Linked DNA regions of Homo sapiens: all the other regions are linked to region 1. The links are contacts of gene promoters, found by promoter capture Hi-C in blood cells and fetal thymus (Javierre and others, 2016). All regions are on one chromosome and are shown on one strand. The core of a region is centred on a gene start or on the middle of the fragment in contact, and the rest is flanking DNA. Distances in the headings are between cores, read along the strand shown. Region 1 holds the start of HADH (hydroxyacyl-CoA dehydrogenase). Region 2 overlaps PAPSS1 (3'-phosphoadenosine 5'-phosphosulfate synthase 1). Region 3 has its middle 180 kb from the start of LEF1. Region 4 has its middle 140 kb from the start of RPL34-DT. Region 5 has its middle 160 kb from the start of RPL34-DT. Region 6 has its middle 120 kb from the start of RPL34-DT.

Region 1 (4,397 bases), core at 748-3,247:
CTGGATCCATTTCCCATAATGTTCCTGGAGGCTGCTTAAGGCCCTAATATTTTGTTACTAAGATGTTGTTAAAATGTTTCTAAAAAACACATTGTTCTATTCCTGCTCACAACAAATCTCACTCTCACAGCCTTGGGAGATTTGGGTGGAGCCTGGGAATACAAACGTACTCAAACTAAACTTTCTCTTGAGTATAACCTGTGGAACTTTTAGGTTAAAGGGAGTTACTCCTCCCAGTCCACATACAACATAGATTATGGGGATACTATAACCTAGCAGCCAGGGGATCCACACAATAAAAAGGGCAATGTATGTCCAAAATTATGGTCTCAGAGGAAATGGGAGACTGTAAGAAGTCATATAAATAAAACATTACAGGGATATAGCTTTTAGAAGAAAATGCAATCAAATAAAAACGTTGTAAAAAACTTGCCAAGGAGAAGAAAATTGAGATATATAATACCTAATAGTAAAAGGTTTTTTTGTTTTTGTTTTTAAAAAGCAAGCATGAAAGCGTGGACTTGGTTGGAAACAAGACATTGAAAAAGTAAACTCTCTCATGACTGTAGCCACAGTAGTACTGTCCCCAAGAAAAATTAGATGACTATAACCGCCTTCCCCAACAAACCAAGTTGCAAAGGACTGAAATGCTAAGAATATAATCAGCTAGGATACGAAAACCATGGTTCTCCAATGTGAGCTGAAATGGAATAATTTTTAAAAAAAAAAAGTACAAGCATTACAGTAGCCAGGTAATCAATCACTCGCACAACTGAGCCTGAACCACAGCTCAGCAGAACAATGGAAAAGCCCTGAAGATGTACAATGGATAAAAGACTTGTTCCGGCTGGGTGCAGTGGCTAACGCCTGTAATCCCAGCACTTCGGGAGGCCAGGCGGGCGGATCACCTTTGGTCAGGAGTTCGAGATCAGCCTGACCCACAAGGTGAAACCCTGTCTCTACTAAAAATATAAAATTAGCCGGGCGGGGCGCCTGTAATCCCAGCTACTCGGGAGGCTGAGGCAGGAGAATCGCTTGAACCCGGGAGGCGGAGGTTGCAGTGAACCGAGATCGCGCCATTGCACTCCACTCCAGCCTGGGTCAAAGAGACTCCGACTCAAAAAAAAAAAAAAAAAAAAAAAGAGAGAGACTTATTCCGCTGCAGCGCCAAAATCGCAAGCTCAGAACTCTGCACAGACGGCACTATTTCAAAGGTCAAAACCAGGACCTCAGCAATCTTCCATTAGGTGACTTTACAAAGTGCTACAAAAGTCATGACTACTACTATTCTTTACAACCTAGCAAGCGAAGGAAAGACCGGGGAGAGCCGGGAGGCCGTTTAGGAGAGAAAACTACTTTGACAAAGACTGCACAATTACAGAATAAAAATCAAAAATAACTGATAGAATTAAAACTGATCGCAGTTCATGTCTTTGGCAGCAAACTCCCGTTTGAGCCGAGCAGGAACAAACGCGTTATGCCTGAACCTTGTGCACATACAATTCTTTCTTCTCTTGCACGGCCCGCTTCCAAAATGCATTCACCGCCACTCTCCATGGAACCTTCAGCGGGCCCTGGGGGCAGCCAGAATTTTCCAAACGAGGAAGCTGAGGATCGGCCCAGAACCCTGAATTTTGAGGGGAGTGAGACTTGGGCCCTCACAGGCCCAGACGCGAGATATTTCAACTACACCCGGGAGGCGCGGGGTGAAAACTCCCTGGTGTCGGGCGGGTGCAGGCCCCTCGCGGCCGGTCGCGCCAGAGCTTCCACCTCAGGGTGGGCGGCCAAGCGCGTGGGCACGCTGCAGGGAGGGCCGCTCACCTGGGCAATGCCGGCGCCCATCAGCCCGCCGCCGATGACCGTCACGTGCTTGACGATTATCTTCTTGGCCGAGGCCGAGGCGGTGGACGAGGAGGACACGGAACGCATGAACTGCCTGGTGACGAAGGCCATGGTGTGGCAGCGGCGGCGACAGCGAGGAGACCCGGGCAGGGAAGACGCGCGAGGCGGGCAGCCGCGGAAAGCCAGACTCTGGGGGCGGGGACCTACGCGGCCCTGCAGCCCGCGCGCCCCCGGCGTCCCCGTGACGCCACAAGGCGGGGGCGGGGCCTCGAGTCCCGCTCTGCCCATTGGCCCTGGCTGTAACGTCCCAGCGTTGAGCGGGTATACACGCGCGGGCTCGCAGCTGTCAGCAGCCGGAGCCCGAGTGAGCGCGGGCTTGAGACCTGCTGAGCAGCGGGACCTGGCGGCTGGCGTTCTGGTGTGGGGCCGAGAACAGACCCTTCTTCTGAAAAGCCACTGGCCCCTTGTTCTATGAAGTGAGTGGTGTTGACTCTGTAAAATGCTATCCTTTGATGACATGTGCATATCTAGGCTCTGAAGAAATATGTGCTGCTTGGCTGTGTTGGTAATGGACCCAAAATGTGCACCGTTGGTTGATGTCACCAAATAATCAACTCGGGATTATTTTAATCCCGTGGACAGTGATTGTTTCCCCTAAAAGGGAAATAAATGTAGACTGCGAACACCCAAAACAAATGTCTAGTGACCATGAGTTACAATGCAAAAATCAGGCTCAGGGAAGGTAAAGAGAGAGTTGACCTTTAGTTACCCATCTTGACGTTGGACGTCTATCAGTGCAGTGAACATGTGGACGGTTTAAGGTCATAGAGCAACCTTTCTGGAATAACGAATACTATTAGAAAGCATAGGAAAGAAATGTCTTGTCAAATAATGGAAGACTGGATAGCAGCTTGGCCAATCTTCTCACTCAGGTGAATACTTTCTAATTACTGTAACTTAGTGATATAGGATTCTTATTAATTTATTTGCTTTATGTTTAAATATTGTTAACAAAAAAACTTCAAACAAGTTTAGCAGAGTTTATCTGAGCAAAGAAAGCATGAATCATGTAGTATCCTGAGCCAGTAAAGGTTCAGAGAGCTCCAGCCCCTAACAGTGGGCAAGCCGCGTTTATAGACAATATTTTTTGCAGCCTGTAATGGGCTAAAAGCTCCGCTGCGGTGATTGGCCAAGACTTGGCCACTTGTTAGAAGAACGTACTCTCAAATTACATTGCAGTTTATTTACATATTAGGTTTGATTATGCTTTGCTAGGTAGGGAGGCAACTTTAGGCCAGATTTAATTTAATAACAGTTTCCTCCTTTGGGTCAGCCTCTCAGTTTTACGAGATTGACCAGAACCTTGTTTTGTCTCAGTATGGAAGTCACAATGTCAAATTAGTTGAGTGATTATACTTTCTTCATGTTGTTATTCTAACTGTAATAACACCATTTGGTGTACAAAGGATGGCTGCATAGAGACATTGAAGACTCTCGAGGGGACAACAACACATCAGGGAGACTATTATGGCCACGAGAAGGAGTATAGCAATAAACTGAGGTACACACCTTAACAGGAGTCTCCACAAACTGAACTGATCAAAATTAAACAATTCAAAGTTCAGGCAATAAAGATAGTTCAAAGTATTTGAGTCCAATTGGTCATGGTCTAATTTAGGGCATTATGGCGGTTAAGGACTGCTAGAAATGCTTATTTCTTGGTGCCGTAAAGAAATAGCACTTGAACATAAAATTAATTTCTTTAGCAAGGCCATTTTTACTTTCTGCGGAAAGAGTACACTCGCCAGCAGTTTTGCCACAAGAGTACACCGAACAAAGGAGGCAGGGTCATTTATAACCTGACCCGTCCACCTTACTGTTGTGACTGGTTTCCATTGGCTAGAACGGGACTTCACATTCTGTATTTGTCTTGATTGGCTAGCAACTTAGAAATTCTTAAAAGAGGCAAAGGCAGAGGAGAACAAAGGAAGGAGGAAGTAACTTGTGGAATGCTGAGAAGGGAAAAACACCTCTAAATAAGGAAGAGGAACAGGCTATGACCTAATGCCCACTTGGACCAGTATAAGCATGCCAGGGCAAATATTTAGGCTAAATTGTGGGAGCTAAGAACATAAAGTACATTGATTTCTTTATTACAGCTAGCAGATATTTAAGAATGTTAACAGGTCTTTGAATAAATTTTGCTTCTAAGAGAGGTTACTATTTATTCCTAATCAGATGAGGAGGAAAGTCTTTGAAAAGGAACCTCTACTTTACTTTTTACAAGGACCATAGTTCACTGAATGACCTGATTCAGCCTTATGGCCTGATTTAAAGAGGTATCCATTTTTGTAATTAGCCTGGTAACACAAGTTATAATAACCTGGAGAGCCACTAAAGAAGCATAAAGATTAGAAAAGTTTGGAATAGCCTAGCTTGCCTTTCACTACTCAGGATGCCTACAAACCAACCATTAGCTGCTCCCATAAATGTATCATGTGTTCCTTTCCCCTGAGAAGTTTCCTTAATATATTCAGTGGCAGTGTTTAGAGAAA
Region 2 (3,781 bases), core at 201-2,700, 300 kb after region 1:
GACCAGAAAGAAGAAAAGGTTGATTTACAAAGGAAACATTGTTCCAAAGGACAGAGTGGAGAGGGCTTAGAGGGAGCTGCAAGGGTGGTTACTAGAGAGTTGGGAGTTAGGAGCAGAAAAGTTAAGTTTGGGGAGTGTTAGAGAGGAGAAGTGGCTGCAGGGGGCTTGCATTTGGCAAAGAAGTAAACTAGCCTCAGGATTCTGAATGGATCTTTTTTGTGAAATTGCTTTCATGCCAGCTCAGGCTGGGTTTGAATGTGATATTAGAGAGAAGCCTGATGACACCAGCATTCAGGCTGGGCTTTGGCTCAGGATCCACGTAGAATTTGAGTGAAAAAGTTTGTGGTACATTCATTGTTTTCCTTCTGTACCTCCCCAATATCCTGGGTTAGTAGAACAGTATGCCTTTTAAAATTGTCATGAATAATAGGAATTAACCTAATAATTTCTTGGATTTTTTTTTCAGTTTATATTTAAAAACATAAATTTTGTCTATTTCCCACTAAATTGGATGAGAAGCACTTTTTACTCATCTTTAATATTAATATAGTACGTTTGTGATTTGTGTGATCACTTTTTATTTTATTTTTTTTTAAGGATCGCAACAATGCAAGGCAAATTCATGAAGGTGCAAGTTTACCGTTTTTTGAAGTATTTGTTGATGCTCCTCTGCATGTTTGTGAACAGAGGGATGTCAAAGGACTCTACAAAAAAGCCCGGGCAGGAGAAATTAAAGGTCAGTAATATTTTCTTCCCAGTTTCACTTTGCTTAGATATTTTATGTTCCCATATCTAGGATTGATATTTTCTAAGAGATTGGAAGTGTTAGAGTGACTTGGAGCTCCTTGAGGAGAGAATGTAGTCTTATTACACTGTTCTATCTCTCAGGCATAGCAGCAGTGCCTGGTGCTGGACTAAATGAGTCTTGTTGATCCTTTTGGAATCCTGTTCACTAGCCAGAGTTGGGGCTCGGGAGTTGGCGAAAACCTACTTGATAAAATTAGGTGCCTAACATTAAGTTGGACATCAGTTGCCTGCTGCCACCAATTCTACTTTCTTTGTTCCAGGGAAAATGGAGGAAATCCCATAGCTATTGGAAAAAATGCCTGAATTATAAGCATCTTGATGATAAGGATAATGCCTTGTACTTTATTACGATCCTTGGAATGGTCCCTTATTCATTTCATGTACTATTGTTGAATTAGATTGAATTAACATATCACTGATTCTGTTAAAATATATACAGCTGACCCTCCACATCTGTGCATTCCACATGTGTGGTTTCAACCAACCGTGAATTGCATATATTCCAGAAGAAACAGTATAAAATAATACAGCAATTTAAAAATAGTATAAATAACAAATATAGTATAACATCTATTTATATAACATTTACATTGTACTAGGTATTATAAGTAATCTAGAGATGATTTAAAGTATATAAAAGAATGAACATAGGTTATATGCAAATAGTACACCATTTTATGTAAGGGACTTGCACATCCTCACATTTTGGTGTTCACAGGGAGTCCGGGAACAAATCCGCATGATTACCAAGGGACAGCTCTACACCTTGCTTTTTAGGTTTTATGGTCCGCTTCCCAGAGTTTCAACTGTGATGGACATTTAGACATTGAGGGAGAAATTTAGAACCCAACTCTGCTCTGGCCTTTGATATTAATCATACTATTTATCTTGTAGACATCCCTTGACTTGTCCTGTTCCATTATTGTTAACAGAAACAAAGGACTTGCTGGCAAAAACAAAACAAAAACAAAACGAAACAAAACAAACAAAAAAACTAACTAAAGATACCATTGTTTAGGGATCAGTGAGTCATGCAGGTAACTTTTAAGTTTGCCTTCCCAGCAGGGAATGTGATAACCTGAGACTGTCACAGAAACTCCCAGGAGCTCTCTCAGAGATAGATTTTGGCATTCAGTTTCTGGCCCTGAAAACAAAAAGATACAGTGGGAAGGAAAATGGTAGTTATTCTGGGTTCTTCTGTATTTGAACCTGGGAATGCTTTGGCAATTAGGTCAGGTTCCATCTGCTGTAGTAGCATTAGTTCCATGGGCAAGGCTGACCTCCGGTAATGCCACTATGGAGAATCAGCTCCTTGATGGGGACTGCTGCCTGTCAACCCTCTACCTCATTAAGCTGTTACTTTCTTGACTCAGAAAGATCAGGCTGCTTAACCAGAATAATTATGACAATTGGAGGAAAACCTGTTTAGCCCTTCAGCTCCCATATTACTCTCTCAATGGCCAGTTTTCACTTCAGTCTTTGTGTAGAAATTTGGCACAGAAAAGCAAAATGGTGTGTCCAGGATCCTAAATAAAGTCTAAACCTTTTACTTACTTTAATTTTAGTTGATTTTGTTGTTTTTGAAAGAATGGATTGGTGAGGGAGGAAGGTTTGTCATCCTGGCTGGAGTAGGCTACTTGTGAGCAGGGAGATCATAGTGAACACTTGTGTGTGTTTAGAATTTAGCACAGTACATTGCCCAAAGCATACACCTGTCACACACATAGTTAATGCTTGTTGGATGGATGAGAAGGTGGAGTGGGAGTGGAATGTTGAACACACATTTGCCAATGCTTTGGCGACAAAAAGAGTTGAACTCTTGTAAAATATTTGAAGAGATTCGAGACCATCCTCGCTAACACGGTGAAACCCCGTCTCTACTAAAAATACAAAAAATTAGTCAGCATGGTGGCGGGCGCCTGTAGTCCCAGCTACTCAGGAGGCTGAGGCAGGAGAATGGCGTGAACACAGGAGGCAGAGCTTGCAGTGAGCCGAAATTGTGCCACTGCACTCTAGCCTGGGCGACAGAGCGAGACTCCATCTAAAAAAAAAAAAATTTTTGAAGAGATTTACTCTGAACCAAATACGATTGACCATGGCCCGTGACACAGCCCTCAGGAGGTCCTGAGAACATGTGCCCAAGGTCGTTGAGGCACAGCTTGGTTTTATACATTTTAGAGAGGCATGAGACATCAATCAAATACATTGGTTTGGTCCAGAAAGGTGGGACAACTCAAAGCCAGGTGGTGCGGGGAGCTTCTAGGCTATAGGTGAGTTTAAATGTTTTCTGGTTGACAATTGGTTGAGTTTGTCTGAAGAACTGGGATTGATAGAAAGGGAATTGTTCAGGTTAAGATAAAGATTGTGGAGACCAAAGTTCTTTTGAGGTCTTACAGTGGCTACCCTTAGAGACAATAGATGACAAATGTCCCCATTCAGATCTTAATCTCTTTAGGATTGGGAGGGTCTGGAAGAAAAAAATATAGTTTTGTTAATAAAGATTCTTTAAAGGTGCAAATTTTCCCCCACAAAGAACAGCTTTGCAGGGCCATTTCAAAATATGGCAAAGAAACATGTTTTGATGAAAATATTTTGATTTTCTTCTTGTCTTGCAATGTTATGCCAGAGTCAGGTTGGAAAAGAAGTCATGATATATAGGGTTAAATAAAACCTATCTGATGAAAATTTGTGGTTTGTAGGGCATGACTCCCCAGGCCCCTTAGATAGGAATTTGGGCAAGATAAAAAATCAGAGTTTAGTCCTCAGCTTTCTATTTGCAAGGTATGTATTTGGTGCCAAGTATTCAAAGATGAATAAGACCTTGTCCACAATGCTCTTGGGTCTCTTACAGTTTGTACTCTATAACTGGGAGTGTGTTTGTATTAGTCCAGTTTCTTGTTTACTTTCTCAACTGTTGACTACATTCCCCTGTTGTTGACTACATTCCCCTGAGTAGAGGTTGATAAAATGTTCC
Region 3 (4,306 bases), core at 1,699-4,198, 360 kb before region 1:
TTTTTTAGAAGTTACATATGAATCACTAGACCTTCTTAATATTAAAAGGTACCTGAAATACAGATTATTCCTGTTTAGGCCAGAATTGTTTTAATCTGGCTAGACTAAATCAGTTTCGATAATGTGAATGGTGTTACATAGTCCTAAGTAATTCCAAAATGTAACTCTATAAGTCAGCATTAATACAAATACATTCATAAACACATATATCCACATATTAATGAGGAGAAAGATACTGTCTCGCTTCTCTTCATTTTTTTTTTCATTTCACACTTGTAATACATTTATCTCTGTTAAATAAACCAAGTGAAGGTAACTGAAATTGAGTACATCACATGGCCTAACTGCACAGGCTAGGAGCAATGATATTAACCCTGTGTATACTCAATTATAGGTAAGGCATTTTGGGGTAAAGACTCATTACATTTCCACGAGTTGTGCAAGCAGTCAGGTTTAAATCTTGTAGAATCCTGCCAGCAAAAATATTAGAAGTGACTCTCACCTTTTTCTATGCGAGATCTGAGACTTTGAAGTCATGCTCCTTGCTGCATGCAGGCAAAGAAACATGAAGGAAACATATTTGTCTGCTGGAACTACATGGGAAATTCGAAAACACCCACCATTTGTCATTCCCAGGAATAAAACTGGGAAGGGTGAACAGAACTCTCGCCAATGTTAGTTTTCTAGAACATGCCTTGGGCATAGTTAGTGAGAAAGAAAGAGGGAGAAAAAATCAATTGGTGAGCTTTCCTGGCTGAAAGACAAGATTCAAATAAGCTCTTTAGCCCTTAGTTTCAGCATTCCCAAACATCATAAAGATTTCAGCTCTTGTAAAAGGGGAGCCAGTTGTTTACAATAGTCTATTCTGGAGGGATTGGGTGTGTCTCGTGAGGCAAATATTTGCCCATAGGAGGTAATAAAATTGTATTAAGCTCTTCTCCACTACTGTACACGGTCATCAATGTGATTAGCTCACTCAAGTCTATTTTAAGATCCTGTCAGGCACAAACATTAACACAAACCTGGCATTTCTCCTTACGAATATATAATTGACCTTTCAAGTCTGTAATCTCATTTATCAAAGCGGATGGCAAGGATTTATGCAGAATAGTTTGCACACCTCTTTGATTTCAGCCCCCTGAGAACCCAAACATGCATCCCACCCAATCCTGTTTTATTTTCGCCATATCCTGTGTTGTTGAATGGGCCTCTTGTAAAAATGCATTGTGCACACTGCCCCCCACCCCGTGTTTTTCTGAAGTTCTAAACAAATCTTACATCAGTTGTGTAAAATGTGCAGTTCTCTTACATTCCTCAGGCAGACTTTAAAGGTCAAAGTTCTAAAGAGTTGGGGAAATCTTTTTGCAAGGACAAGAATCCACATGGCTGAAAACAAGAAAGTGGTTTAGTGGACAGTAAAGCAAGCTGCGGGGGCAAAATCACACTCCAGAAAATGATGGTTAGAGGGGAGGGTAGAAGTGTGCATATCTGGAGCTTTCTCAAACTATCACCCTCTGCTTGTTATACCCTTTAACTCAACCTTCTGGAAAAATCCACTGACCAACAGCACTGCTTCTTCATTACAGCAACAGCGAAATGGAGTGAGATACTGTTAGATTCTCAGCAAGCCAAAAGGACAGTGGAAGAGCTGGTAAAGAAAACAAGGTTAAGGCCTCGTTGCCCCCATCAGAGCTAAAGCCAACCATTAAAACTCCCTTTAGCATTTCCATTTCTGTGCCTTCACTATTGAGCTCAGCCCTGTCTCATCTCATAGTACCCTCAAGCACCATCATTTGAAATAATTTTATTTCCATAAACATGTATAAAACAATGTTTCTCATAAACATCTATGCGTTATAAGGATTTAACTCTAAATTCCCTTTCAAGTCAGTTCAGGTGCCAGCAAGGATCCAAACTACTCTTTGTTTCTGGCTGAATGATGTACACAATCCCAAGAAAGACACCAAAGAAGCACTCAGCTCTGTTGCTATAAAACTAATAAATAGTGCAATCAACACAGGACACATTCCAGAGAAAGCCTGTGCTCAGTGGCTGGGTACATGACTCAAAGCAGCAGCCTCCCACTATCAAGAGTGGTCGAAAGATTGGGTTGTGAGGATAGGGGAAGGATTACATGTCATAAGAAAAAGGAAATTATGTTGATAATGATTTCTGGAGTCACTGCCAGCAACTTCAGCCAACTTGCCTGCAGGTTATCAAAATGTGCCAAATGTAGGTCCAGCCCTGTCAAGATTCAAAACATTCTTCACTCAGATCAAAGGAAGACCCTCAGAATAATTTTTTTTACTCAATACAAATATTGTCCCCAAAATCAGAGATCTCTAGACTGTCAGACTTAACGTATAGTAGAACAATTTCCCAAGTTACTGTTTTAGTACGAACGTATGGGAATAATTTGAAAAGATGCTTACAATATTGCAAAAACAGTGAGTCCTTAATATCACCATTCAATCATTGTTCAATCATTCACTTAATGCATTTCTTGGGCACTTAATGTGCAAAGTATTTTGCTATTTCTGTGCAGAATCCAAAGTTGGGAGGCAGGATAGCATCACGTTTAGAAATACACACTCTGGTGGCATTCCAAACTTTGGCGGGTCACTTACTAGAGGTGTTATTTAACATCTCTAAGTCACATCTACTTCCTATGGCCCTCATAAAGGTCAAATGAGATAATGAATGTAAAACACTTGGCAGAGCTCCGGGCACATAGAAGTGCCCAGTACATGTTAGTAGGTATTCAAAGTCATAATTTCTAGAATCAAGGCAACATTTCCGAGAATAAAAAAAATCATGGATGTTTGACAGGATATTTGTCCAGCTCCTTAACACATCACTTTCCCTCTTCACACACACATACACAATACTCATGGAGCTCTCAGATTTTCTTTCTGCAGGTAAGTATTTGCTGTTAGGTTTATTTATGCATTGTACTTAGAATTGTTTTTTCTTAAACAGTCAGGGTAGGTGGCTGTGTCAGTCCCACTCTGGACTGATATTCTGAGTCACAACAAATCCCATATTATCTGTACCAAAATGAAACTGCTCCGGCATCTCCAGGAAAGTGTTTACTGACCTGTAAATTACTCCATTGTCCATCTGAGGAGAAAGTAAATCAGCCATCAAGGGGAAAACACAGGAAAGGAAAACAGTTGTTTGTCACAGCGGAGGATTGTTTTTTGTGTTTTTTTGTTTTTTACAAGCTCCTCCGTGTCCTAAGACAAAATAAGAGCCTATGGCTCTGTCCAGTAATGACTTTCCTCAGAAAAGCTGTGTCCTCCCCAAGGTACAGTGAAACCTTTTGCTGAAGTGATGGACTCCTCTTTTGCAACCAGTTAGCACCTGCTCGCAAAACTTGATCCCTCCTTGGTTTGTTTCAAGTGGAGCCAGGGGATCAGGACTTAATTAGCGGTGATATCTCTCACACTGATCAGTTCCATCCAGCTTCCCCTGAGGCCCTAGATTTGTCTCTATCTGGAATTCCCGTGCTTGCTGGTAGGCTTGTGTTTGCAGTTAGCTGGCAGACACTTCCCACTGCAGCGCGGGGCGGCAGGAACACCCCTCGTGGCAGAGCAGGCAGCCCTTGGCGGGGCTTGGTGGGAGGCAAGTCTCAGCACCTTCGTTTAGCCTGGCGCCCACAGCCCAGAGGCGGCCCCACCGTGGAGCTTCCCCCGTGCAAGGACGAGGTCCACTGAGGCTGCCTCAAGTGACAAGGAGTCACCCTCACCAGCTGAAGGAAGAGCCATGGAGGGCTCAGTCCTGTGTGTTTGCAAATGGCCCTTGGGCTGCTGAGGATGGATTTTTTTTTTTTTTTTTAAGAGGGGAAAATGCCTCAGCTCTGTACCAGCTTGAAGCCAAAATAACATGTTTTGGCAACCATTATTTGGCAATTAGGGCCTCAGCTCACTGGAAGCATTCTTCCATGCAAAATATGCCTTAGAAAGAAAACACTAAGCCACATCTGTGTGAAAATATAGGAAGTGAACACAGGAGTGACAGAGCAGTGAGAGTCCAAAAGGGGCTTACTAGACTGGGTTGGAGTCAGGACACATTGGCGGAGGCCAGGCAGTGACTGGGTGACTGGATGTTTTCACAGCCTTACCTCCAAATCTGACCCAGTCCAGCGAGGGACTAAGGATATGGCATGGTGACATCCTATGTGTGTGTCTCCTCCTCCCAGATGATGGACTTGCCTTTCTCTGGCCTTCAAAGGAGCCCTCCCGCACGTTTTAAGCAAAGGCAAAACAGAGGAACGGACCCAGGCCTGGGATCACGTTTTGCTAGT
Region 4 (4,173 bases), core at 1,449-3,948, 490 kb before region 1:
TTTTGTTCATTAAATATAATTTAGACTTTTCTTGCACACTCTGGGTCATCATTAGGGATTTCATTGATTCCACAGGGACTCCCCGGAGGGGCTCTGAGGGGATCTGCCTGCCCTCAGGGTGGTGCAGTTATATCCTAGAGCCATTAGTCGCCCACCCACCACCTTGTGGGCCAACCAGGGTATTTTCTTGTTTTTTTCCCTCACATCTCTCTCCGTTTTCCACCTCACTGCTTTTTTCTCCCCCAATTAAAACACAACTTCCCACACTACCCTTTCATCATAGTCATCCTGCTTATAATGACCCAAGTCAGTCTTTCCCCCAACCCTCTGGCATTCAGCAAGCTCTCCGAGTCCAGGACCACACACCCGTCCTGTCCCGTGCTCTTCCTCAGGGCTCTGATACACAGCGTGTATTCCACTTACAGGCACGTGCTTGGTGGCCCACTTCCTGGGTTCAAATTCTGGTTTTACAGTTTGCTGACCTGTGTGATCATGAGAAGATTACCCCAAATTTCAAGTTTAAAGCTTTAGTGACTTGATTAATTAAAAAGTTGATAACAGTACTGACTTCTCAGAATTGTTGCAGGTATTAGATGAAGCAAGTCAAGTGGAACAGCTAGAATATAAGTGCCCAATAAAAATTAGCAGTTATTGTAATTGTGGCTAAACTGAGAAAGCAATCCATAATATTCATCTATGTACCTCTTGTATGCTTTGTTGTAGTGCTGGTGAGAAACGTACGAAACTCTAACATGATCAACAGAGTAGGAGTTCTTGGTGTAATGTTGTGGCATTGCAAATAGGACAAAGCAGGGAGTTGAAACAACTATTCTGCTCATTCAAATTAAAACTAAATATCATCTTTTGGCCAGGTGCGGTGGCTCACGTCTGTAATCCCAGCACTTTGGGAGGCCGAGGCGGGTGGATCATGAGGTCAGGAGATCCAGACCATCCTGGCCAACATGGTGAAACCCTGTCTCTACTAAAAATACAAAAATTAGCTAGGTGTGGTGATGGGCGCCTGTAATCCCAGCTACTCAGGAGGCTGAGGTAGGAGAATCGCTTGAACCCGGGAGGCGGAGCTTGCAGTGAGCCAAGATCACACCACTTCACTCCAGCCTGGGCAACAGAGTGAGACTCTGTCTCAAAAAATGAAAACGAAAACAAAAACAAAACAAAACAAAAAACAAAAACCTAAATATCATCTTTTGACTCTTAAAGCAGCATGTTTCGTTTTCTAAAAGGCACCTGCTATCTCATTTTATCTATGCATTAAACTTCAGCTGGACCTGAATTACCTGCTCTTTGTCCACATGGCCCAAATTCACTAAATAATTGCAGGTATTGCAGGTATGGACTCAATGGTTCCAAGCTCCATTCTGTCTGTAAATTTAAATAAAACTATCCCTTTTGTTTTCTCTGCATAATGATACAATCTAAACAAATAGAGTTTTTGTCTCCAGGCCACCTGGCTCATGGTGATACTACCACACTTTTTATGGGGCATAGAGTCACAGGCCCCAGGTCTAGAGCAAACCTCAGGGACCATCTAGTTCAATCACATTATTCTACAGATGAGGATGAGGAAGCCTAAAAAGGTGAAGCCACTTGTGTAAGGCCATACAGCTAATAACTAGTCAAGGAACAAGAAGAAGGCCTCCTATCATCCATTAGTTGCTGAGCTAAGACTTGTGAAAGTATAAGTGCTCAGACTTATCCATAAGTTTTTCACTAAACTATCTACTTTGATTGTAGGTTTTAATAAAAATTATATTTATTGAAAGAACACTGAATCAGGAGTGAGGAAGCCTGGCTTGCCTGACTCTATCTGTTATAATATTGGGAACTGAAACATCATTTTTTCCCTAGTCTTCATCTAGAAAAATGGAGAACATGATGCTTTGCTCTGCCACCTTCGCAGGGTTGCTATAGCTATCAAATGAACTGATGAAGGAGAAAGTACTTTAAAGTCCAGGCAGACACTTGTGAGAGCAGGGCTTTGGGGTATTAGTCATGAACCCCAGCTCTGCCATATATCATCTGTGGAACTTTGGTCAACGCAATTCATAAATGGGAATAAAGCTGATCTTACTATTATTAAATCCACTTAAAGACTGAATAAAATGTCAGGCATATAAAGTATCTGCCACAAAGTAGACACTCAAGAAATGGTAGCTATTACTAAATAATTAAAACAGTGTACAAAACAGTGGATTGTTGTCTGTTTTCTATTATAGAGATGTGTGACTGCATTCTGTTCAATGCTGTTCCCCAGATTATTATATTTCACTTTCTGTGAATTTTTATACATCTTCAACAGCGAGAACGAAATCAGTCAATAATAGAAATGAAATCAGTCAATAATAGAGACGCATGACACATTCATGCTGAACTGAACTGAGTACACCTAGAGTACGTTTCGACTTACAGAACGGCTCGTTAGAAACCTTCACTGTAGAATTTACAATAGGAAGAAAAGGCTGTTTTGAAAATCAATTCTGAACTTATTCAGGTTGTTCTCAAAACAATGAACTCTTCCACTTCATCCAAATTCAAAATCTGATAAATAGAGTGTATGAGGAGATCAGGCACAAATCACAGACCAAGGGGGTCCCTGCACCTTTAAATGAACTTGGCCTGATTGCTCTCTTCATATACAATGTGTGCATATGTATATACGTCACGAAGCCACGTGGAGATCACCAAAAAGGCCTGTGTGGCAAGTGTGCACACTCTGAGGCTGATTGGGAGAATGGAAACTCCATGTGCAGATATTTTCCCACATAGGAAGCATGGGCACCCTATGGCTCTTTTGGCTTACTCCAATTTTATTCTTCCATTTATGAGGAAGAAGAGAGATTGAAAAATTAGGCTGATGCATAATAATACACATAAATTCATAAAGTCCTTCATTACAAAGTAAAACCGCAGGGTGGGAGTGATCAAAATAAATTGTATTGTCATAAAGCAATTAGGAGAAAATTAGGTAATCATAAGGTGATAAAAGCCTATTAGTTAAAGGGCCTGAAAAACACAGCGGGTTGTAAAAAATTAAATTCTCACATACAGAAAAAATGCAAATACATGCAATTGTCTCTCCATGGCAAAGAGTCAAATTACTGATGTGTGTGAAGAGTTAAAATAGAAGCCCTGAAAAATGTTAAGTGCAATTTTATTTCTCATCAGTGCTCAGATTTGAGATTCTAAGTTCTTAGCTTTTCTTTCTAACACAATAAGCCTTAAAAACAATTCTGTTATTTGAAGGTAAGGAGATACACCCTTTACAATGAAATGTAATAGTATGTAATGAATTTCACATTGATTTCTACTTTTTAACTCATTGAGACCATTCTAGAATTATAGTCTTCAGATGTCAAAAGAATTTTATTTCTAATGCCATTATTGGAAATTAAGAGACTGAAACATGGGGACGTTAAAGCCAAGTTTGCATTTGGATAATGAGTTAGTTGATGGGAGTAGATCTGATTCCAGAGACTAAATCACTTCTGCTCTTTTTCCCAATCCAGAGCCCTTTCCATTCAGCTATCCTGCTTTTCTTCTATAACGTTAGTGCTTGAAACAGTTGGGCTATATCAGCTGCTGGGAAACTTTTTATGTAAAGAGACAGATAGTAATATTTTTAGTTTTGTTGGTCGTAGGGTCTTTCTTGCAGTTACTCAGTTCTGCTGTTATAGTGCAAAAACAGCCACAGACAATACATAAATGAATGAGCATAGCTGCATCCCAATGAACTTTCCTTTCAAAAACAGACTCAGGGCCAAAACTGGCCTGCTGGCAGTAGTTTACCTACACCTGTTCTGTATCTTTTTTTTTTTTTTTTTTTTTTTAGAAATAAGTAAGAAGGTTTTAAAATAAGTTTAACGAAAATTTCCAGTTGTCATAAAGATATTTGTAATGGGAAGATTGACCAATTCCCTTACTCAAATGTGTCGCTTTTCCTGAGCACTATTCTGAGGCCATCCTCATTGAGCCCAGTTCTTGGCATTGGTATTACAAACAGAAGAAGCTCCTATCTCAGATTAATCTTACCCTTTTCTTCCTCCGTTTCAGTAGATGGTAACACAATGCAGACTGATGCCAGTACACAATGACCCTGTAGTTATCCCAGGACAGTCCTCTCTCTCTTTGTCCAAAATGGCTGATCTGAGTTTA
Region 5 (4,189 bases), core at 1,546-4,045, 470 kb before region 1:
GGTTTCAATGTGTCTCCCAAAGTTCACAGGGGCTGGAAATTTGATTCTCAGTGCAGCCGTGTTGAGAGGTGGGACCCTTAAGGGGGGATTAGGCCATGAGGGCTCTGCTCTCATAAATCAATTAATGTCATTATTGCCAGGATGGATTAGTTATTGTGGGAATGAGTTCCTGATAAAGGATGACTTTGGCCCCCTTCCTCTCTGGCAAATGTGCTCTCTTGCCCTTTCACCTCCTGCCATGGGACGACATAGCAAGATGGCCTTTGCCAGATGTGAGATCCTAAACCTTGGACTTCCCAGCCTTCATAACTATAAGAAATAAATATATTTTCTTTATAAATGTACCCAGTCTGTGGTATTCTGTTATAGCAACACAAAACAGACTAAGATAGTCTCCCACCACTCCCATCAGAGATGTCAGCACCAGCCCGGTGGTTCTCCTTCTCAGAGGTATGAGTCCCAGCTCCATGTGCTTATCCCTTCAAGTTTCTAGGTTATGATAACACCAACATCTTCCCTGTGTTTTTCTAACCTTAGAGGTGGTGGATAATTTTCACACTTAATATTGCTGCATTATTTTTGACTTTTTTATTCTCAAGCACCTATTCTCTATTTTCTCACATTTTACCATAAAGTTTAGAGCACTATACACATGGTGCTGCACCTTGCATTTTTCATGTCGCAATACGTCTTACAGAGATGTGTGCATAGAGTTCTTCACAATTCTTTACATTAACCGATAATATTCCTTTAGGCTGAAGTACCATAATTTATTTAACTAGTCCGCTATTGGTGGAGGTTTTGCTTACTTCAATATTTTTCCAATTGAGAAAAAATGTCTTAATGAATGACATAGCAGAATTCAGAATTATATATACCATACATCATTTTGCATATGTGCAAATGTCTCAGTTCATTTTGTGCTGCTGTAACAGAACACCCAAGACTAGGTAATTAAAAAAGAACAGGAATTTATTTCTCACAGTTCTCAAGGCTGGTAAGTACAAGGTCAAGGCACCAGCATCTGGTGAGGACCTTATTTCCATGCCTCAAATGGTAGAAGGCAGAGGGCAAGAGAGAAACAACTCCCTCTGCCAAACACCTTTATAATGGCACCTAATTCCATTCATAGGGGTGGCACCTTCATGGCCTGGTCGCGTCTTAAAGGCCTCATCTCTTAATACAACCACATTGGCAACACCTAAGTTTTGGAGGGGATTCATTAAAAGCATAGCAGCAAGTATATCTGGTGGACAAATTTTCCAAAGTGACCTCACCTGGATCTAAGAGTATAAAAGAAAATTGCCCCCCATGGTGACTGTACCAATTTACACTCATACTAACAATGTATGAGAGTGTTTGCTTCCCTCACCTTCACTGAAAGAGTGTTATAAACCACTTACTGAAGTCAGTAAAATGAGTCTTTCATTGAGCATCTGAAGTCATGGCCTTGGTAGTTAAAAGGTACTGTCTCTCTTTTATAGACCTTAAAAATCCAGAACACTACTTGGTTGATCCATACCTGGTTCTTTTTTCAGGTAGACAGTTCAAGTTTCCTTAAGAAGACACCATCCTTTTTCCTAGGCCTATCTTCTTTGCTGTCTCTGCACAAAATGAAGCCTGGAGTGAGGCAGCCTAGGAATCAAAATTCTAGCTTTGCAGTCAAAAGCCTGAGGGTGTTGCTAGATGTCAATTTGACTTCCCTCTTGTCCTTACTTTTAGATTCCATTCCAATGTTATCCTTTAATAGTTTTATTTCAGGGAATTTGATTTTATTTCCCAGGCAGTGGAAGTTTGCATAAAGGTTTCATCAGGGGAGTGAATAGGGAAAATGGACTGATGGTGGAGGAGATTAAGCCCGGGGGGTGGAAGTCCAGGTGATTCATGATGGAGGACCCATGAGGGCAGTGTGGCAGCAATGGTGGAGGGTGGTACAGAGACTCAAGATATGGAGAGATAAAGACCAGATGATAGGAGGGAAGGAAGTAGGAGATCTGAAGAGGAAAAGAGAAGTTAGAGATGATGCTAAGATTTTTAGCTTCATCTACTTGGTAAATTATGAATAGAAAAAATAGGGAAGGGGGAGGCAGAAGAAAAGTATTAAATTTATATTTATAGTTTTTGGCTACTCTTTCTCTACTTTTTTTGTTTTTTGCCTACTTCATTTTCCCTTCATATTTTCTACTTTTTTGTTATGAAAATTTTAAAACATGCCAGAATGTTGAAGGAAAGTACATTCAACATTCCCACACTTACCCCCTAAATTAAAAAATTATTGATGCTTTGCTGTATTTGAGTTATACACACATGCAGATGTTTATTTTTGCAGAACGTTTGAAAGTAAGTTGCAGGTAACACAAAAGTTCATCCCTAAATGCTTCAGCATGCATCTCCCAATAATAAGGAAATCCTCCTCCAAAAGCACAATACCATAAAACATTTAAGAAAATTTACATTATTTCTCTAATATTAGCTAATTTAAAGCTTGTCTTCAAATTTTCTACATTATACCCAAAATATCTTTTATAGCTGGTTGTTTCAAAGCAAGATTCAATCACGCTTTATGCATTGCATTTGACTGTTATCTCTTTTAGTTCTTTTATCTCAGAACAGTCTCCATTTTTAAAAATGATATTGACTCTTATTGTCTTTTTGAAGAGACCAGGCCAATCAACCTATAGAGATCACACAATCTGGATTTGCCTGATTGTTGCTTTGTGGTATCCTTTAGCTTTTTACTCTCTCCCTTGTGTTTTATACAAACAGCAAGTTAGGTCTAAAAGACTTGATTACATTCAGGTTAAACATCATTGGCAAGAATAACTTACAGGTATTGCCACATACTTTCTATTTATCCCCTCAGCAGGTATCAAATGGCAGATTGTCCACAATTAGTGATAGTATATTTGATCACTTGGTTAAGGTAGTGGCCATCACATATTTTCATTTTGAAGATACATTTTCCTCTTTGCAATTATCAAGTTGTTTGTGGGGTGATATTTTGACACCTTGCAAATATCCCATCTCTCCTTATAACTTATATTTTGGAATGCTGGCCTATGGAATACCAGGCGAAATTGTCCAATGAGCAACTGGTAAAGCTTAGGGAGTTAAGTTTCAGCAATAGGACTTGAAGTCACTGGTATCAGGATGATGGTTAAAGCCAGTGAAGAGGGTGGGACCATCTAGAAAGAGTATACAGAGAAGAGGACTGGGGATGGGCAAAGGAAGCAGAGCCAGTAGAAGAGACCTAGGGGAAAATAATCCTGAACAAGAATAGGAACCTGCAAGGCTGGGACATGAAAGTTTCAAGTAAGGGTAGGAAGAGGAAACAATATTCAACCCTGTAGAGAGTCTTATCAGACGAAGCCCAGAAGAATGTCATGGAGGAGGGAAACCACCAGAAGATTCTTAGCAGAATGGTGAGGACAGAATCTGCTTGGCAATGAGGGCAGGCTGACTGTAGGGGCAAAGAGAGGGAGAAGAGCATATTCAGAAATAAGGTAATGTGGTTATGAAAAAGATTTTATTTTGCTTGCTTGTTTATTTGAGGGATGCAATATATTTGATCCTATTTGAGGACAAATGGAAAAGAACCAGTGGAGAGGGAGAGGACTAAGACTGTAAGGGGATGATTTATGGTGTTGGAGGAGAGGGCAAGGGAATGTGATTAAGGACACAGGGGTTTCACCTTGCGAAAGGATTGTCCCTTTCACAACAGAGCAACCTCAGTAAGAATGAGGTTTGACAAGGATGATTATGTTGGAGGAAAGTTGGAGGAATTCTCACCGGATGACCTCGATTTCTTCAGTGAGGTAGGAGATTGTCTCATGTAAGCAGGTGTGGGTAATCTGGGTCTTGAATCCCAAACCTTGAAGAGAATAGAGAGTTTTGAACAGCTGTTGAGAAGCCAGTGCATGCCCATATAATAGCAAGGAAGAGGAATATGAAGAGCCCACCAAAAATATGAATGAAGGGTTTGTTCCTTACACATCTGTAGCTCACTAAGTAGATCATAGCTTCCTAAAGAGTCCTCATTTGTTTTCCATTTCCCTCTGTTATTGGTTTAAAATATGGTGTCAGTCAGTGCCTGGCCCTCTGCACTCCCACCCTGTCTGACAACCAACCATTCCTCAGATGGGCCGCCCTCCTGCCCCTCATCCAAGCCCAGTGAGATGCTTGAGAAGTC
Region 6 (3,800 bases), core at 388-2,887, 510 kb before region 1:
CTCAACCTCCTGTGCTCAAATGATCCTCCTACCTCAGCCTCTTGAATAGCTAAGACTACAGGCATGAAGTGCCCTGTCTGGCTAGTTTTTTTTTTTTTTTTTTGTAGAGATCGGGTTTTGCCATGTTGCTCAGGTTCATCTTGAACTCCTGAGTTCAAGCGATCTGCTTACCTCAGCCTCCCAAAGTGCTAGGGTTACAGGCATGAGCCACCACATCTGGCCCTATTCACCCTTTCTTACTGTAAATATCTATTCTTTTACCAACATCTCCCCAAACCCACTTCCCTCTAACCATCGCAGCCTCTGGTAACCATCATTCTACTCTCTACTTCTATGAGATCAAGTTTTTAGACTTCACATATGGGTGAGAACAGGCAGTATTTGTATTTCTGTGCCTGGCTTATTTCACTTAGTTATGTCTTCCAGGTCCATCCATGTTGTTGCAAATGACAGGATTTCCTTCTTTTTATGGTTGAATAGTATTCCATTGTGTATATATACCACGCTTTCTTTATTCTTTCATCTGTTGATAGATATATCTTGGCTGTTGTGAATGGTGTTGCAGTAAATGTGAGAGTGCAGATATATTGATTTGACATACTGATTTCATTTCCATTGGATATATGATTGGTAGTGGGATTACTGAATCATATGGTAGCTCTATTTTCAGTTTTTTGAGGAACATCCATACCATTTTCCATGATGGTTGTGCATTCTCACTCACAGTGTACAAGGATTTCCTTTTCTTCACATCCTCTCCAACACTTGTCTTTTGTCTTTTTGATAGTAGCCCTTCTAACAGGAATGAGGTGGTATCTTATTTTGGTTTTGATTTGCATTTCCCTGATGATTAGTGATGCTGAGCATTTTAAAAATACACCTGTTGGCCATTTGCATATCTTCTTTTGAGAAACATCTATTCAAGTCTTTTGCTAATTTTTAAATTGAACTGTTTGTTTTCTTACTACTGAGTTGTTTGAATTCCCCACGTATTTTGGCCATTGACCCCTTATCAGATGTGTAATTTGCAAATATTTTCTCCCATTCTGTAGATTGTCTTCTTACTCTGTTGTTTCCTTTGCTGTGGAGAAGCTTTTTAGTTTGATGCAATTCAATTTCTCTGTTTTTACTTTTGTTGCCTGTGCTTTTGAGGTCATATCCAGAAAATTGCCCAAACCAATGTCATGGAGATTTTATTCTACGTTTTCTTCTAGTATATTCATAGTTTTGGGTTTTATGTTTAAGTCTTTTATCCATTTTGAGTTAATTTTTGTATATGGTGAGGAATAAGGATTTAATTTCATTCTACAAGCGAATATTCAGTTTCCTGAACACTGCTTATTGAAGACACTGTCCCTTCCCCATTATGTGTTCTTGGCACCTTTGTCAAAAATCAGTTTGGTATAAATATTTGGATTTATTTCTAGGATCTCTATTTTGTCCCATTGGTCTGTGTGTCTGTTTTTATGCCAGTACCATGCTGTTTGGGTTACTGTAGCTCTGTAGTATAATTTGAAGTCAGATAGTGTGATGCTACCAACTTTGTTCTTTTTTGCTCAGGATTGTTTTTGGCTATTTGGGGTCTTGTATGGGTCCATATGAATTTTAAGATTTTTCTTCTATTTCTGTGAAGAATATCATTGGTATAGGGATTTCATTGGGTCTGTAGATTACTTTGGGTAGTATAGACATTTTAACAATATTAATTCTTCCAATCCATGAACACAAATATCTTTCAACTTATTTTTGTTTTCTTCAATTTATTTCATTAGTGTTTTATAGTTTTCAATGTAAAGGTCTTTAACCTATTTGGTTAAATTTAATCCTAAGTATTGTTTGTAGGTATTGCATATGGGATTGCTGTCTTGGTTTCATTTTTGATAGTTTACTCAGTATATAGAAACACACTGATTTTATATGTTGATTTTGTATCCTGCAACTTTTCTGAATTTATTAGCTCCAATAGCTATTTTGGTGGAGTTTTTATGGTTTCTAACTGTAAGATAGTGTCATCTGAAAACACAGGCAATTTGACTTCCTCCTTTCCAATTTAGATGCCTTTTATTTATTTATTTATTATCACTTGCCTAATTGCTTGGACTAGGACTTCCAGTACTATATTGAATAGTAGTGTCAAAAGTGGACATCTTGTCTTGTTCCAGATGTTAGAGGAAAAGCTTTCATCTTTTCCCCATTCAGTATGATATTACCTGTGGGTTTACCATATATGATAATAATATGATATCATATATTTATGGTGTTAAGGTACATTCCTTCTATACCTAATTTTTGAGAGCCTTTTTTAAACCATAAAGAGATGATTAATTTTCCCAAATGCTTCTTGTGCATCTATTGAATGTTCAGTGGCTTTTGTTCTTTGTTCTGCTAATGTGATGTATCATGTTTATTCATTTGCATATGTCGAACGATCCTTGCATTCTTGGAATGACTCCTAACTTGATCATGGTGAATGATCTTTTTAATGTGCTGTGGAATTTGGTTTGCTAGTATTTTGTGGAGGATTTTTGCATCTATGTCCCTCAAGGATATTGGCCTTTAGTTTTCTTTTTTTTATTATATCTTTGTCTGGTTTTAGTGTTAAGATAATGCTGGCCTTATAGAATAAATTTGGAAGAATTCTCTCCTCTTTAATTTTCTGGAATAGTTTGAGAAGAATTGGTATTATTTCTTCTTTAACTGTTGGGTATAATTCTACAGTGAAACCATCAGGTCCTGGGCTTTTCTTTGATGACAGACTTTTTATTACAGATTCAATCTTCTTACTTATTATTCATCTGTTCAGATTTTCTATCTCTTCATAACTCTATCTTGATAGGTTGCATGTGTCCAAGAATGTATTCATTTCTTCTAAGTTACTCAATTCGTTGGCATATAATTGTTTATAATAGTCTCTTATGATGCTTTATATTTTGTGATCAGTTTTAGTGTTTCCTTTTTCATCTCTGATTTTATTTACTTGAATTTTCTTTCCTTTTTTCTTAGTCTAGCTAAAGATTTGTCAATTCTGTTTATCTTCTCAAAAAACAGACTCTTCATTTTGTTGATCTTTTCTATTGATTTTCTAGGCTCTATTTCATTTATTTTTGCTCTGGTCTTTATTATTTATTTTATTCTACTAATTTTGAGTTTAGTGTGTTCTTATTTTTCTATTTCTTTAAGGTGGAATGTAAGGTTGTCTGGTATTTTTTTTTAAAAGTAGGTGTTTATTGCTATAAGCTTCCCTCCTTGTACTGCTTTTGCTGTATCCCATAGGTTTTGGTATAATGTGTTTCCATTTTCATTTGTCTCAAGAAAATTTTTAATTTCCCTTTAAATTTTTTAATTGATCCTTTGTTATTCAGGAGCACATTGTTTAATTTTTATATATTTGTGAATTTTCCAAATTTTCTTCTGTTACTGATTGCTAGTTTTATACCATTGTGTCAGAATAAAAGACATTTGACACGATTTCAATCTTAAATTGTTAGGATTTGTTTTGTGACCTAACATATGATTTATTCTGGGGGAGTGGTCCATGTGTAATTGGGAATAATGTGTATTCCATAGCTGCTGGGTGGAATGTTCTGTGTCCTAATATGTCTGTTAGGTCTATTTGGTTAGAGTATGGTTTAAGTCTGATGTGTCCCTGTTGATTTTGTCTGGATGATACATCCATTGCTGAAAGTGGGGTATTGAAGTCTCCTACTATCATTGTATTGCAATCTATCTCTCCCTGCAGATTGATTAATATTTGCCTTATATATTTAGGTGCTCAGATTTGGGGTACATATATAATTCTT

The links. Contacts are between HindIII fragments. The CHiCAGO score rates a contact against its expected background, and 5 or more counts as called.
Region 2: a contact is called between a fragment that was not itself captured here and the fragment with the promoter of HADH in region 1, in 1 of 17 cell types (monocytes). The highest score is 5.0, in monocytes.
Region 3: a fragment that was not itself captured here is called in contact with the fragment with the promoter of HADH in region 1 in 3 of 17 cell types (fetal thymus, activated CD4 T cells and non-activated CD4 T cells); the score reaches 6.3 in fetal thymus.
Region 4: a fragment that was not itself captured here is called in contact with the fragment with the promoter of HADH in region 1 in 2 of 17 cell types (activated CD4 T cells and non-activated CD4 T cells); the score reaches 6.7 in activated CD4 T cells.
Region 5: a fragment that was not itself captured here is called in contact with the fragment with the promoter of HADH in region 1 in 1 of 17 cell types (non-activated CD4 T cells); the score reaches 5.4 in non-activated CD4 T cells.
Region 6: a contact is called between a fragment that was not itself captured here and the fragment with the promoter of HADH in region 1, in 1 of 17 cell types (non-activated CD4 T cells). The highest score is 6.1, in non-activated CD4 T cells.

The regions. Positions count from the first base shown.
Region 1 is chr4:107,987,489-107,991,885 of GRCh38, reverse strand. It overlaps HADH (hydroxyacyl-CoA dehydrogenase), which reads right to left and starts at 1,997. Exons shown (of 8, transcript NM_005327.7): 1 at 1,822-1,997. The coding sequence starts at 1,953. RefSeq lists a silencer at 2,001-2,230. The HindIII fragment of the contact is 11,946 bases long and covers 1-4,397 here.
Region 2 is chr4:107,683,994-107,687,774 of GRCh38, reverse strand. It overlaps PAPSS1 (3'-phosphoadenosine 5'-phosphosulfate synthase 1), which reads left to right. Exons shown (of 12, transcript NM_005443.5): 4 at 598-736. Among named protein-coding and RNA genes, the nearest start is that of PAPSS1, 34 kb to the left of the region's middle. The HindIII fragment of the contact is 4,878 bases long and covers 1-3,781 here.
Region 3 is chr4:108,349,747-108,354,052 of GRCh38, reverse strand. No RefSeq gene overlaps it. Among named protein-coding and RNA genes, the nearest start is that of LEF1, 180 kb to the right of the region's middle. The HindIII fragment of the contact is 6,562 bases long and covers 1-4,306 here.
Region 4 is chr4:108,478,325-108,482,497 of GRCh38, reverse strand. No RefSeq gene overlaps it. Among named protein-coding and RNA genes, the nearest start is that of RPL34-DT, 140 kb to the left of the region's middle. The HindIII fragment of the contact is 4,341 bases long and covers 528-4,173 here.
Region 5 is chr4:108,454,591-108,458,779 of GRCh38, reverse strand. No RefSeq gene overlaps it. Among named protein-coding and RNA genes, the nearest start is that of RPL34-DT, 160 kb to the left of the region's middle. The HindIII fragment of the contact is 617 bases long and covers 2,487-3,103 here.
Region 6 is chr4:108,495,182-108,498,981 of GRCh38, reverse strand. No RefSeq gene overlaps it. Among named protein-coding and RNA genes, the nearest start is that of RPL34-DT, 120 kb to the left of the region's middle. The HindIII fragment of the contact is 1,085 bases long and covers 1,095-2,179 here.